Regions from separate parts of the Homo sapiens genome. Here all the other regions are linked to region 1. Evidence: promoter capture Hi-C in 16 types of primary human blood cells and fetal thymus (Javierre and others, 2016). All regions are on one chromosome and are shown on one strand. The core of a region is centred on a gene start or on the middle of the fragment in contact, and the rest is flanking DNA. Distances in the headings are between cores, read along the strand shown. Region 1 holds the start of ERICH6B (glutamate rich 6B). Region 2 overlaps SIAH3 (siah E3 ubiquitin protein ligase family member 3). Region 3 overlaps SIAH3 (siah E3 ubiquitin protein ligase family member 3). Region 4 has its middle 69 kb from the start of CBY2. Region 5 has its middle 44 kb from the start of CBY2.

Region 1 (2,701 bases), core at 150-2,649:
TCATCACTGCTCTTTAGAGAAATGCAAATCAAAACCACAATGAGATACCATCTCATGCCAGTTAGAATGGCAATCATTAAAAAGTCAGGAATCAATGGATGTTGGAGAGGATGTGGAGCAATAGGAATGCTTTTACACTGTTGGTGAGAGTGTAAGTTAGTTCAACCATTGTGGAAGACGGTGTGGCAATTCCTAAAGGATCTAGAACCAGAAATACCATTTGACCCAGCAATCCCATTACTGCGCATATACTCAAAGGATTATAAATCATGCTGCTGTAAAGACGCATGCACACGTATGTTTATTGCAGCACTATCCACAACAGCAAACACTTGAACCAACCCAAATGCCCATCAATGATAGACTGGATAAAGAAAATGTGGCACATATACACCACGGAATACTATGCAGCCATAAAAAAGAATGAGTTCATGTCCTTTGCAGGGACATGGATGAAGCTGGAAACCATCATTCTCAGCAAACTAACACAGGAACAGAGAACCAAACACCACATGTTCTCACTCATAAGTGGGAGTTGAACAATGAGATCATATGGGCACAGGGAGGGGAACATCACACACTGGGGCCTATCGGGGGCGGGGGGGCAAGGGGAGAGATTACATTAGGAGAAATACGTAATGTAGATGACGAGCTGATGGGTACAGCAAAACACCATGGCACGTGTATACCTATGTAACAAACCTGCACGTTCTGCACATGTATCCCAGAACTTAAAGTATAATGAGAAGAAAAAGAAAAGGAAAGAAAAGGAAGGGCAAATTGCAAGCACTTCAAAGACTGAGGTCCTTCTGAAACCTCTGTGACAACTGACCAGGAATGCCTACATAGAAGTGGTTTGCAACCCAGCCTCCCACCCCACCTGACCATTCTGCCACTCCTGCAAGTCCACTCACAGTGGCCAGGGCATGGGAACTCAGCTTTCTCCAACCCTTGGCCCCAGATCAACCCCTTGTGGGTCTCTCTATCCCTTTCAGGGCAGTTCCTTTCCTGGGGACCAGCTCCAGTGAGCCCATTCAGGGCCTTGAGAGCCACATGTCCCATCTCTTCATCTACGCAGCCACCACAAGCTTAGCACTGGACCCCAGGATTCTAGAAAGTCCCAGCCTGGAGGTCTGACGTGTACTGTCTCCATTCAGGGAAACACAATCCCCACGGCTGCAACTTCCCCCTGACACAGGCGACCTTCAGGCAGACAGCAGGAAAACTTTCTGGCCGCCGCTGACGACTGGTCCAAACAGTTCCCCGCCAGGAGAGAGGCTGGGAAAGGGAAGGCAAGGGCAGGTGCAGAGGCTTAGAATTCTCCGCCACGCACACACGCAGATTAGATGGGGCCCAGGGAGGCTGCGGAGTGCGGTTCCCATGGTAACCGAGAGCTGCCACAAACGCCGGGGCCTGAGATCGCGGTGGATGCACGCGCGGGAGCCTGGCTTGGGTAAGGGCTGCGCACGTTAGCAATGCGCTCCTCCTCCTCTTTCTCCTCCGCCTCCCTCTCCACCCACTCTCCTCCTCCTCTTCCCCCTCCTTCTCTGAGGGAGAAAGCAGGGAGCAGAGTGGAGGATCTGGGCAACAAAGAAGCGCCAAGTACATAGACTTCTTTGTTTCTCTCGCCCTTTCTCGGCCTCTCTATTCCCTTGGCCTTTCTGACATCTGCTTCGACCCAGCTTCTTCCCATTGTGAAGGCCGTTGTTGGGTCATGATATTTCTACAAATAAAGGATAAGGGGTCACTTTCTCTCCAGAGAGCCCCTAGCTCTGGGGGGAAGTGCGAGTGTGGATACTATGACTTCTTCCTTGACAGCCTGAATATAGACCAGTCCCCCAACCAGGAACAAATTCCCCAGATCGAAAACTCCAGCCTTGCCCACGAAGCGACTCCTGTGGCCCAAAGGCAAGTCACTCAGCTTCCCCTGTTTCCTTCCCCTACCTCTCTAATGTGGGGGGTAAACAGCAGTCCTAACTGGCCTTCCAGGGAGATGTGAGCAGTGACCAAGGTCAGTGTTTTTACAAGTGTTCTGTTCCAAGTGATGGCTCAAAGTCACCCTCCTTGAAAGTTCAAACCTGAATATATTCGAAATTCTATTTATAAAAAAGGTCCTAGGAAATGATGTTGTAATGAGTGCACTGGGTGTCTATAGTGCTAAACACTGCACTGATTGGTCTAAGGGGGTTGCCAGAACATTTTGATTTCATGTTTGCCCCCTGGCATGTTTTAATGTAGATCCAGATCAGCCCAGGCCTGGCACCATGGAATTCACAGAAGTAGGTCATCAGTTGTTCCCCTCATGGGGGAGAGCAGCAGACTTCAGCCAAGAATCACACAAGTTAATGAACAAGGTTATAAACAGCTATGGTAGATGATAACAGCAACAAGAACACATTACGTTTGCAGAGCACCATGGAATCCTTGGAGTCCTTTACAGAAATGAGGCTTCTCACCTTGATCCATCTAGGGTTTCCAAGCATCGGCTGGGAGAAGCCCAGTGAAAGCCAAGGGTCACCCACTCCATCTTCTTCACCAGCTCCCAGCTTGCTGTCTTAGCCCACCCATAACTCATCTCTTGAGTTTCCCCCATAGCAGGAGGGAAAGTGAAGTGATGGGGGCTGAAAAGTCCAAACCAGAAATTTCATTTGTGGTCAGCCTCCTGTGTGCCTCTCCTTCCGTTGGATCATCCATTCGATCC
Region 2 (2,701 bases), core at 102-2,601, 230 kb before region 1:
CCCCATTGCTTGTATAAAAAGCACATGTAACCTCAAAAAAATTCTCCTTCTAAACGCTGATTTCCATAAACAGACCACGGAAATATGCCTTGGACGTAATAAGCTGTGATCTATGTAATGAGGAGGAAAGTCCTTCTTTTGTTAAAGGAAAAAAATAAAACCTGTGGCAGTATTAACCCAGAATAGCTATTGATCTGCCGTGCTTCCCCACATTTTGTATGACAGGCCAGTATATGAAATGGTGACCAAGGACAGAGAGACTGCAACCTTGCTTTCAATTTTATGGGTTGCGTGTAGCTACAAAGAGGGCTGGGAAGCTTGTGTTTTTCCTTGTGGAAGCATTTATGTGTTTTATCCTTTCCTGGGCTTTCCTGAGAATTCGAACCAACAGCATTTTAGAAACTGAGGCAAGTGCTGAGTTATAATCAAAATTCACTTACCAAGCAAAGAAAATTGTGTATTTACCATGCTTCTATAGGTCACCTTCATTCTCAATCTTATTATGGTGATTACTCAGTAACCTGGGATTCCTTCGAGCAAGCTGATGCCTTTCCTTCTAAATGGAAGGCAGAGCCTTCCTGGGGACATCAGATCCTCTGGTTAAAGCCATTACACCCCTGAAGCTCACCCTAATTAAAAGGGACATTTAGAGTAGCCAGCCTTGAACATAAGAGACCTCAGCTTTCAGTGAGTGCCAGGCAGTGGAGTGCAAACAAGACCATTTCCCTCAGTCTCTGCCTGTCTCTGTCTCTGAGGACCACTTGCACAGATTAGGGTTCCAAATGGTGCCCCCACTTCTTTCCACCCCATGAAAAGTGACCGTCAAGGAGCCAGCTCTCTTGGCCAGCTGCCCTCTGCTTCCTCATTCACAGAGGTTATTGAAATGTGACGAGCAGACTTCAGGCTGGCGCTCATGAGGGCGCCTGCTCCTGGTCCTGATTCAGCACTCCTCTCTCCCTCCTGTCCTTTGCTTGTTTCTAAACCAAGAAAGCCTTTCTCTCCTGGCTCCACTCCCATTGGCGCCAGCTGCTTCTACAGCGCCCTGCCCTGGGCAGCCCTGCCTTCTTTTGCCCCATCTGCAGAGGTGCCCTTTGAGGGGAGGAGCGGTCAGTCCCTGTGCCCAGGTTTTTCCAGAGAAGGCTCTGTAGTGCTAGGGGTCGGTCTGGGGTCAGTCATCAGCACTTCCCAAGCAGGCAGTAGCTAGGCTGAGGCTGGCTGAGTGACTTCCTCCTCTTAACCACAGCGTTTGATAAACAAGTTTCTGAAAGAAGAATAGTAAAATGCTTTCTGGCAAACTTCCATGAGGCCCTCTCTGATACCTCCAACCTGTGCCTGCACCACCCCAGACAACCCCATTAACCTTGAGGTGCAACAGAAACACACACGTGCACACACACACACACACACACACACACGAACACATGGAGTGGGAGGGGCATATGGGACAATCGTGGCTTTAAGTGCCCGACAGATATGAAATCTAAAGCTGGGGCACTTCAGTACCATTTGTTGATGCATCCACGTGCCTTCCATTCTAAGACCAACTTGTGTGGATAAATGTGTATTGAGTGGCAGTGGGGAGGGTGGGAGCTGTAAGGAAGAGGAGGAGGCAGAGACCAGGAAAGGAGAGATGTGAGATGTGTGCCCACCTTTGCCATTTATGGGATAATCTTTGGAAATCCCGTGCTGCCCCGGGGTTTGCTAACTCTGTTTCATACAGCACAGCAGGTGGCTCAATGAGAGGTAAAGACCTGAGCATTGTCTAGAGATTTAGAGGTGGCCTTTGGAGTGTTCTGCGTGAATACCTACTTTACAGCAGTTAAAGGCTTCCAACAAGACTGTTTAATAGCTGGTATGTGGGTTACTCAGTTCCTCTCCACACAGTCACCTCTGACAGTCCCATTCCCAGTCCTCTGGGCATTTCACTGTCTTGTTTCTCTGTCCAGTCTGGAGCCACTTTGCCAGAGGGGCTGGATAAAGGGTAAGGAAGGGGACCCCAAGCTGGTGGTGGTCACTGTGCGAGCATTATTCTAAAGGCTTTGCAGCCTCTTCCAGCCCATGGGTTCTGTGAATATTGTATGACACTCCACTCTGTGGGCTCAGAGCATTCGTGCGGCTTTTCTGGTTAATGGTGATTGCAAATGAGGCTCCTGAGTCACATAACGGGGAGGCCCAGAGCCTGGAGCAGTAATTTGGTTAGCCCTGTGCCGGTGATTGAGTTGTAGGGGAGGCTGAAGCTGGCGGCTATGATGAGGTGAGCCGATTACCTCTGTACTGCATTTATCCAGCAGCCCCGAAGCAAATTTGGTGGAATTCTCTTCACTGTGATCCCTCAACCTGCAGGGACTATTTGGGAAAATTAGAAAATAGATACGGAAAGCTTTCTTTGAAATCCGCAGAGAGGTCTGAATTACTTGGATGGCTTCCCTGGGTAAGATGGATTATTTTCCTAGCAATTAACAACAAGAAAAAAAATTAACTGTCTGTGGGGGTATTTTACCCTTAGCAAAGTCATCTTCACCCAACTAGCTCTGTTTCCTCCAAAGGGAAACAGTGACCTGGTTAGACAAGAAATGTCCTGTGGAAGGAATCAACCCAAAGAATGGAGACCTTACTGACAAAATTGAGACTAGAAGTTAGGTCTTCTAGGTCAGGTGCGGTGGCTCACGCCTGTAATCCCAGCACTTTGTGAGGCCGAGGC
Region 3 (2,701 bases), core at 81-2,580, 210 kb before region 1:
GCCTTTGGAGGAAAGCTGTAACTCAGAGAACAAGGCCTAGGAAGCGAGGGAGCTGGGGTAGGGCTGTCCTACAAAACGGAGAAATGTCACAGGCACAGAGGATGTAGCCAGAACAGGTATGATATGAGGGCCCAGTGTGCACTGATGCTGTTGAATGAACGAACAGATGAGGAAGCTGCTCAGAGCTCAGGAAAGCAGCAACAGAAAGTACTGTCCCAAGTAACTTCTTGCTCACCAAGTTGTTTCCTAAGAGACTCAGCATTTCACATTTTCCCCTATGGTTACCTTCTGCAGAAAAGTGAGCTGGGAAAAGTGGATCCTCAGGAAGACTACTTCACGAAGGTGTGAAAAGGTCAGTTCAGATGTCACTCCCTCCAAGGTGACACTAAGCACACACCCCAGGCAGGGCTGGGGGCTGCGCTCCTGGCTTGGGGGAAATCCGTTTTCTGGGGAAGAGTGTGGTGTGAGGTCTTTTCTCCATCATCCACATTCCCATCTGTTAACGCAGTGCTCCCAGAGTCGAGATAATGATTTAAAAGCTCTAATTTTGTTACATTCTGAATCCTGTCTGCCATCAAGGCTGATTGTAATGAGATTTGGCTAGGAGCTTGGCTCTTAGCTGGGGTCAATTTATCTTTGGGAGAAAGCGCTCCCATCAAAACGCCCAGGAATTATTAGCACTTAGAGGAAAGCTGAAGAGACCTATTAATGCGAGATGCCTAGGGAGTCCTGAAGTGTGAGGTGCAATTATATTTCTTATTTATTTCCCCCAGCTTCATGTTTAAGAGTGAAGAAAAGATGGGTAAGTAAGATCTCGTGGAAATCGATAAATATGTATTAAGCACCCACGATACTGTCATGCTGCCGTACGTTTGCATACCGCTTTAGCACTCACAGCAGTGGACACATTAGCACACGCCTTGGTTCTCTGTCACTTCTCAGCACAGCCCTGCAGAGTAGAGGATGGCTTCTTTTTTTGGTTTTTTGGTTTTTGTTTTTTTTGTTTTTTTTTTTGAGACAGAGTCTCGCTCTGTCGCCCAGGCTGGAGTGCAGTGGCGCAATCTCGTGGTTTTTGTTTTTTAATAAATGAGGAATAAGGCTCAGAGCAAATAAGTCCCCTTCTCTGATAAGTGATAGAGATTTAAACCTGGATTTTTCCAACTCCGATGCGCTGCTTTAACAAATTATACCACAAAACATTGTTTGTGTGCCAGGCTCTATGTGTCTGGAGGTCCAAAGACATTTAGCACTGGTCTCTTTCCCCACAGTGGTTTTCAACTCCACCTGCATGTTGGAATCATCTAGGGAGCTTGAAACCAAGGGGAAGGGCTGAAACCTGGGTCTCAACCCCAGATACTCTGCCTTAATTAGATGAGGTTAGGCCCAGAGCCTTCCAGCTTACAAAGAAGGAAGAAAATGGCCAGTGACAGGTGAGGGGTATGGAGGCTACCCCAGACCACTTTGAATATTCTGTTATTGCTTTTGTTAATAGCAGAGCTTTATCGACAGCAGCAAGGGGGGCAGGTCCTGTGCCTGCTGTGGGCCTGACTACATTCAATCTAACTTACAACCCTTTGAGGCAGCTAACATTACTGACACTCTTAGAGAATTCGATGTGGCGTTGTGGGACAAATAAAGGGTTTGGCACTAAAAGGAATTGACTTCAAAACCAAGTTCTGCCAGTTTTTACTTGTATAATTTTTTAACTGAAGTTCACTTAAACCTAAGTCAGATTTGCCTAGTATGTAAAACGGGTTGTAAAAATTGCCCTAATTATAGAGTGGTGAAGATTAAACAGATGAGAATGGATCTTTGACCTTTGTAAGGCCTAAAATGTAGACTATTTGGTACTATGTTCACTGTTTGGGTGATGGGTTTACTAGAAACCCAAACCTCAACATCACTCAATATACCCATGTAACAAGCCTGCACATGTACCCTTGAATCTAAAATAATATTTTTTTAAAAATACAGTCCCAATGTTACTACAGAGGAGAGAGCTGAGGCTCAGAGCCAGTAAGTAATTTGCCCAAGGTCACACCAGGTCACAGCCCAGATCTTTGACAAACACTGTCAGCACCACTCCCTATACTGTCAGGCCTGTAGGACTAAACCACCAGATTAACACTTGCACAGTGCCTGCTGGCCCTGAAGGCCTTTGCATCTTTTGACCTTGTCTTAAAGGTAGGGTAGGATAGTGCTGAGTGATGAGAAGCAGGACAGGCTTCATGGTGTCTTTGGATAGCAGTTTTGAGACCAAAATCTTTCAAGTGCTTGGAGAATCACAGAATAGATGGAGTTCTCTAGGGCTGAGAGTTTACATTCAGGTAACTGGAGAGTTTTAAAGCTGAAAGGCATATCAACGGTAGATTTCACAAAGGAAAAGAAAATTGGAAAAACTCCAGAAGTAGACTGAGATTTAAGGTTTTTAAAGTAATGCTATAAAAAGACCTGCCTGGGAAAATAGGGCAGACTTGCCTTGCCTATAGTGGTTCTGAGGATCAGCTGAAATAGTGTACACGTGCTTTAAAAATTCGGAAGCAGCAGTTTTCAGCTCTGGCCACGTATTAGAATTGCCTGGGGAGCTTTTACAGAACTCCAGCTGTAGGTGCCCACCCCAGACCGATTAAGTCAGCACTCTAGGGTTGGGCCAGGCAGTGGTCTTCGTTAAACGCTCCCCAGGCAGTTAGATTGTGCCTTT
Region 4 (2,701 bases), core at 137-2,636, 160 kb before region 1:
AGATTCTACAAGAGCAGGCTACAGAATCTTACTCATATGGAGCATGTAGGTTCCCTGAAATAAATGATAAAAGTGGCTTTGAGTCTGATGGCCCAGGACCTGTCCCTAACATCTGGATGAAGTCTTCATCATAGCAATGAGGAGGAAGGCATTGCTGGGGAATCCTGCAAGTAAATTTCCTGAGGCAGAAGACAGTTAAAATGTCAGGGCTCTGTCTCGGGAAATCCAATTCATGATAAGAGATAAACACTTTGGAATATGATACTATGTGGCGAGATGACAGACATGGAGACATCCTCTTTTAAAAGAAAAGTTTATTACAGTTTCCAAGAGAAAGGGGCATGTCACACCATGAGAGCCACACAGGGAAGAACAAGGTCAATCAGGAAGCAGCAGAATGAGGAAAAAGCCTGGGCAAAACCTTTACTGTTGTTTTCACAGAAGGCATGGGTGAAACAGAGTAAGCAGCCGAGCAGGCTGAGGATTGGATAGTTTCAATAAATAGGCTCTAAGCTATGGGGTGAGCTCTATTTTTCTGGTTCCTGGCCCTGGGGCAATTTAGGGTAGGGGGACAGACTGTAGGAGCAGATAAAATAAGGATGGTGAGGGTGCGAACTCAGGATTGGTTGGTTTGCGTACTAAATACATGCTCTCAGGTAAACTGTTCACTCACGATAGCAATTAGCTAACCCTGGGATGGGCAGTATGCCCCCTAGGTCTGCAAGGCCCTAAGAAGTCAAAGCCTCATAAAATATGGAAAATAAAATAAATGATTAATATACCCAACCCCTCAAAAATTTTGTTCTAAGAGTGCGGACAAAAGAAGCAATAGCCCAAAAGAGCTTAATCTCTTGGAGTTCTTGTGGGCTGAAAGAATTGTGATCTTTGTAGAAAACTCTCCCTTCACACTCAGGTGGAAATAGAGGCCCAAACTAAGGCAGTAGGAGCAAAAAAAGAACCTAAAGAAAGAAAACAGCCTTTCAAGAGGACAGCAATTCATAAGACAATGTTGGTAAGCTTATGTGAATGGTGCCTCTGGATGGTACAGTGCACTATCTGCACAACTGTGTACAGTAGTCCTCAGTTTGAGTGCCCAGGACACACAAGAAAGGGAGGGCATATCAGTCAAGGTTTTTAGTTACAAACAACAAAATCGACTTTAGCTAGTTCAATCAGAAAATATTCGGTCATTTATAGCATTGGGGCTCAGAAAACAATATATGGTGCTTTGGCATGCCAAGCACTCTGAATTAAAGAAAATTGGAAGGTCTTAGAAGCTGCTTCAGAATTAGGGTCTCTCTTATCTTGTTTTTCCCCCAAGGGTAGGGAAGGTCTCTCTCTCTCTCTCTTTCTGTGAAGTTTTCTTATTTGACTGAGGGAAGTTTCTCCAAAAGAAATATAATTGTCTTTAATCCCTGTCTGAAATCTTATTAACCAGGAAGAATTAATCACCAAAGATGAAAACAAAGGTCATCACCACATCCCCACCCAGACAGACTTTTCATCTATTCTTTTGAAGGATATTACCTGAGAGGCTTTATCTTCATTGTAAGACAACCTTTGTTCCCAGTGCAGTTCTGCCCCTCACCTTCCCACAACTTGTCACCACCTCCCCGCAAGCCCAGAAGAACTTTGTTCCAGGCTATTATTTGTTTTTCAGGCCTATCTTATCCCCTGGAGACTATTTACTCTTCCTCCAAAATTGCCTATGTTCCCCACTTCCCTCTTCCCTAGGAAGCGGGTATGTAAGCTTTAATCTGGCCCTTCTTTGAGTTTCATATTTTGTGTGTGTTTGCATATTAACAAATTTGTATGCCTTTTCCCCTGTTAATCTGCCTATTGTCAGTTTATGTCAACAGACTCAATTATCCAACCTTCAGAGGGTGGAGAGAAAGTTCCCTTTGCTGTGACAACAGGAAGGCTAGAGAGTGACAGCCAGGGGCAAAGCAGCCAGAGGAAACACCGAGCTACAGCACAGACCTCTTCTAGCAGAAATGCCGCTGCTGCTGCTTTCTGCTGCTTGGCACCTTGATGCGAGGGACTGAACTTTAGTGGCAGAAACTCTACCCCAGCTGCCCCAGAAGAACCAGCTATGCCTGTCAGAAGATTAAGTCTCTAAATCATATGAGGATTCCTAAATGCCAGGGAAACTGGGGAATATGGATGTTAGCCTTTAGGCACTCTAGCTCAGGAAGGCAAATTAAAAGGGCACTGGAACCTGGGTTAAGTGAGCCAATTTATGCTATCTGCCACAGTAAAATATGAGAAACTTGGAGTTTCAGGAATAAAACTGGGGAGTAGAGGCAACTACCACTGGGATTTTCACCTGAGTACTTGACGGTCCTCATGCCAGCATAAGCTGGGGAGCAAAGGCTGAAGTATCTGAAGTAAGAAGCACCAGAACTCTTCCAGTAGACAGCCTTTTGCCCATAGACACATTCCCGAAACAATGAACTAAATCACGTGCTAAGTGCCACATATAATATTTATCACTTTAAGAATCCCATTGTGAATTCTTTTGCAAAGTGAATAACCATTCTTCTATATTTCTTTCCTGTGAAACTGGATTTAATATATTGAACTTTCTTAAATCAAGGTATACTGTCCCTTTGGAGCCTTTTAAAAGAACAGAACATCACAAATCTCATGAAAGGAGGCTATAAAAAGTCACAGTTTTGACATAACAGGCATCACATAACTG
Region 5 (2,701 bases), core at 142-2,641, 130 kb before region 1:
ACTGTCTGATTAACTGTCACCACAGTGATGCACGTAGTTAACAAAAGTATGTATTACTAAGAAAACCAGTCAACAAATAGACCACAATGGTTATTTCTGCTTAAGAGCAGCAGAACGTGTTAACTGGTGAATCTGTCTAAGGCTTTACACAAGGAATGCATTTTTTAAATGGGTTCCTAGTTTGTGATAAAATTGCAGGTGCATTTTACAGGTGTTAACAAAGGAGAATGGGCTGGGGCACAGTGGCTCATGCCTGTAATCCCAGCACTTTGGGAGGCTGAGGTGGGTGGATCACTTGAGGTCAGGAGTTCAAGACCAGCCTGGCCAACATGGTGAAACCCCCGTCTCTACTAAAAATACAAAAAAAAAAAAATTAGATAGGCATGGTGGTGGGCACCTGTAATTCCAGCTACATGGGAGGCTAAGGCAGGAGAATTATTTGAACTTGGGAGGCAGAGGTTGCAGTGAGCCAAGATCGCACCACTGCACTCCAGCCTGGATGATGGAGCGAGACTCCATCTCAAAAACAAAAACAAAAACACAAAAAACAAAGGAGAATGCCTCTGACAAATGCAAAGCAACCTTCCAGAATACTGCAGATAATACCATTTCCCTTTACCTGGACTAAGCACTGGAAATGAACAACACTTGAACTGCAGAGAGCATTCAGGCCCAGAAATAAACCAGGAGCCATGTGGTAAGATGTGGGTGTTTGCCTGCAAGCCACAAGAGAGGAAGTGCTAAAGGATGGAGTATAATGTGAAGGGAAGAGAAGAGGATGTTGCTGGACAAGCGTACAGTGGCGTGGCCCTTGGCATTCATTGTCCTTCACTTGGCCTAAATCCCAAGTCCATGACATTTTAAAAACCCTGCATGTTGGGACTGCACCAATTTTTTAGGAAGATGTTTTCCAAATGTATGACAATGCTCTTCCACATCATAATACTAGTTAAGGCTTACTAGAAAAACAGGCTTTCTCCAGTCTTAATAGGCATATGAATCATCTGAGGATCTTATTAAAATGCTTATTCTGTTTTGGTCACTCTGTTGGAGCCTGAGATTCCTACATTTCTCACAAGTTTGTGGGTGATGTAGATGCTCCTGGTCCATGAACGAGGAGGAGCAGTGTTACATAGCATTACCACGAGCCAGGCACTGTTATGGGTGCTTGATGTATAGTGTTTACTCATCACAATATACTTCTTAGGTAAGTACCATTATTTTTTTCCCTTTTTGTAGATGGGAAAAGATAGACACGGAGAGGTTATGTAACTTACCTAAGGTCACATAGCCAATAAGGAACCAAGACAGGATTTGACCCCAGGCAGTCAGTGCCAAAGTCTGGGTCTCTTTGAGAGCTGACTTTCAAAAAATCAGATTTAATTCTTACAGATACAGTTCCTCACACTCCCCTATCCCACTGTGAAATCATACATGCAGGCTCAGCTTTCTACTTGTAAGCATTTCTTCACACATTTCTTTGACAACATTGATCATGCAACTACTTCGAACCAGCCCTGGGCTAATCTCTAAGTTTAAAAAGAGCAGACCTGTGCCAAACGGAGTTCACAGGTCAGGGGGAACAGGCCGGGCAGAGGGAGAAGTAAACCAACAGCTCTAATGCAGGCTGACCCACATGGGAGTCACAAAATGCATCAGATACACTTGCATTTCCAAAATGGACATAACTAGGTTATTGTTTTTTTCTTCCTTAAGTGGAAGGGAAGAGAAGAAAAGGAAAGTTAAGATTTTTAAAAAACTCTTATATAATAGGCTTTGGACATATTACCTCATTTAACCCTCACATCAACCTGAAATACAGGTTATATTATCCCCTCTTTAAAGCTGTATCAGACACTCTCCAAGATCACAGAGATAGCCAACTGGGAGTTGGCATTTGAATTGATGTCTAACTGACTCCAAAGCTGGTATTTTCTGAATACATCACTGTTCTAACAATCTATTACTGCAAAATGATCCCAAAACTAAGTGGCCTATAATAACTATTTTATTACGTGCAAAGATTCTGTAGGTCAGGTGTTCAGAAAGGCCACAGCTGGGAAGGTTTTCTGCTCCAAGATATCTGGGGCCTCAGCTGGGGTGACTCAAAGGTGGGCAGAAGGTAGAGAGACACAGGTGAGGCTGGAGAATCCACTTCCAAGGGGGCTTCCTTATTCACTGTCTGGTGCCCGGGTTGGGAAGTCTTAGGGATATGTGTATTCATCTGGAATTGTCACTTGGAGTGTTTCCATGTGGCCTCTCCAGCATGGCAGTCTCAGGACAGTCAGGCTCTTCACATGGTGGCTCAGGGCTCCTAGAGTGAGTTTTCCAATAAAGAAGATGGAAGATGCATTCCACCCTTTGAAGTCATGTAACATTACTGTTCTTTTCTCTACAGTCCACTCATTGGTCACAGAGCATACCACGTGCAAGGGCAGAACGCAGCCCCCATCTCTTGATAAGAGATGTGCCAAGGAACTTATGACCACATTTTAAAACCACCACAATCACTTTCACCACAAGAACCAACCTAATATGTAGTTCTTGCCTCTTAGAACCACATGGAAGCCTTTCAATAACACAGCCCTTTTAATAACAGAGGACATCCACAGTCCAACATGGGTCTACTTGGACCCCATCGAAGAGAGTGAGTTACTGAGTGAGTGAAAGATACCAACAGAGTGAGCTCCCCTGTAATCCA

What was found. The method cuts DNA at HindIII sites, captures the fragments that hold promoters and counts their contacts. A CHiCAGO score of 5 or more calls a contact.
Region 2: a fragment that was not itself captured here is called in contact with the fragment with the promoter of ERICH6B in region 1 in 1 of 17 cell types (M1 macrophages); the score reaches 5.2 in M1 macrophages.
Region 3: a fragment that was not itself captured here is called in contact with the fragment with the promoter of ERICH6B in region 1 in 1 of 17 cell types (M1 macrophages); the score reaches 5.1 in M1 macrophages.
Region 4: a fragment that was not itself captured here is called in contact with the fragment with the promoter of ERICH6B in region 1 in 2 of 17 cell types (M1 macrophages and M0 macrophages); the score reaches 5.9 in M1 macrophages.
Region 5: a contact is called between a fragment that was not itself captured here and the fragment with the promoter of ERICH6B in region 1, in 1 of 17 cell types (M1 macrophages). The highest score is 5.4, in M1 macrophages.

What each region holds. Positions count from the first base shown.
Region 1 is chr13:45,614,437-45,617,137 of GRCh38, reverse strand. ERICH6B (glutamate rich 6B) reads left to right here and starts at 1,399. Exons shown (of 15, transcript NM_182542.3): 1 at 1,399-1,453. RefSeq lists an enhancer at 1,275-1,776. The HindIII fragment of the contact is 3,697 bases long and covers 1,091-2,701 here.
Region 2 is chr13:45,846,337-45,849,037 of GRCh38, reverse strand. All of the region lies in intron 1 of SIAH3 (siah E3 ubiquitin protein ligase family member 3), which reads left to right. Among named protein-coding and RNA genes, the nearest start is that of SIAH3, 4.1 kb to the left of the region's middle. RefSeq lists an enhancer at 1,339-2,029. The HindIII fragment of the contact is 2,063 bases long and covers 320-2,382 here.
Region 3 is chr13:45,823,191-45,825,891 of GRCh38, reverse strand. All of the region lies in intron 1 of SIAH3 (siah E3 ubiquitin protein ligase family member 3), which reads left to right. Among named protein-coding and RNA genes, the nearest start is that of SIAH3, 27 kb to the left of the region's middle. The HindIII fragment of the contact is 3,095 bases long and covers 1-2,701 here.
Region 4 is chr13:45,769,950-45,772,650 of GRCh38, reverse strand. No RefSeq gene overlaps it. Among named protein-coding and RNA genes, the nearest start is that of CBY2, 69 kb to the right of the region's middle. The HindIII fragment of the contact is 733 bases long and covers 1,020-1,752 here.
Region 5 is chr13:45,745,305-45,748,005 of GRCh38, reverse strand. No RefSeq gene overlaps it. Among named protein-coding and RNA genes, the nearest start is that of CBY2, 44 kb to the right of the region's middle. The HindIII fragment of the contact is 3,026 bases long and covers 1-2,701 here.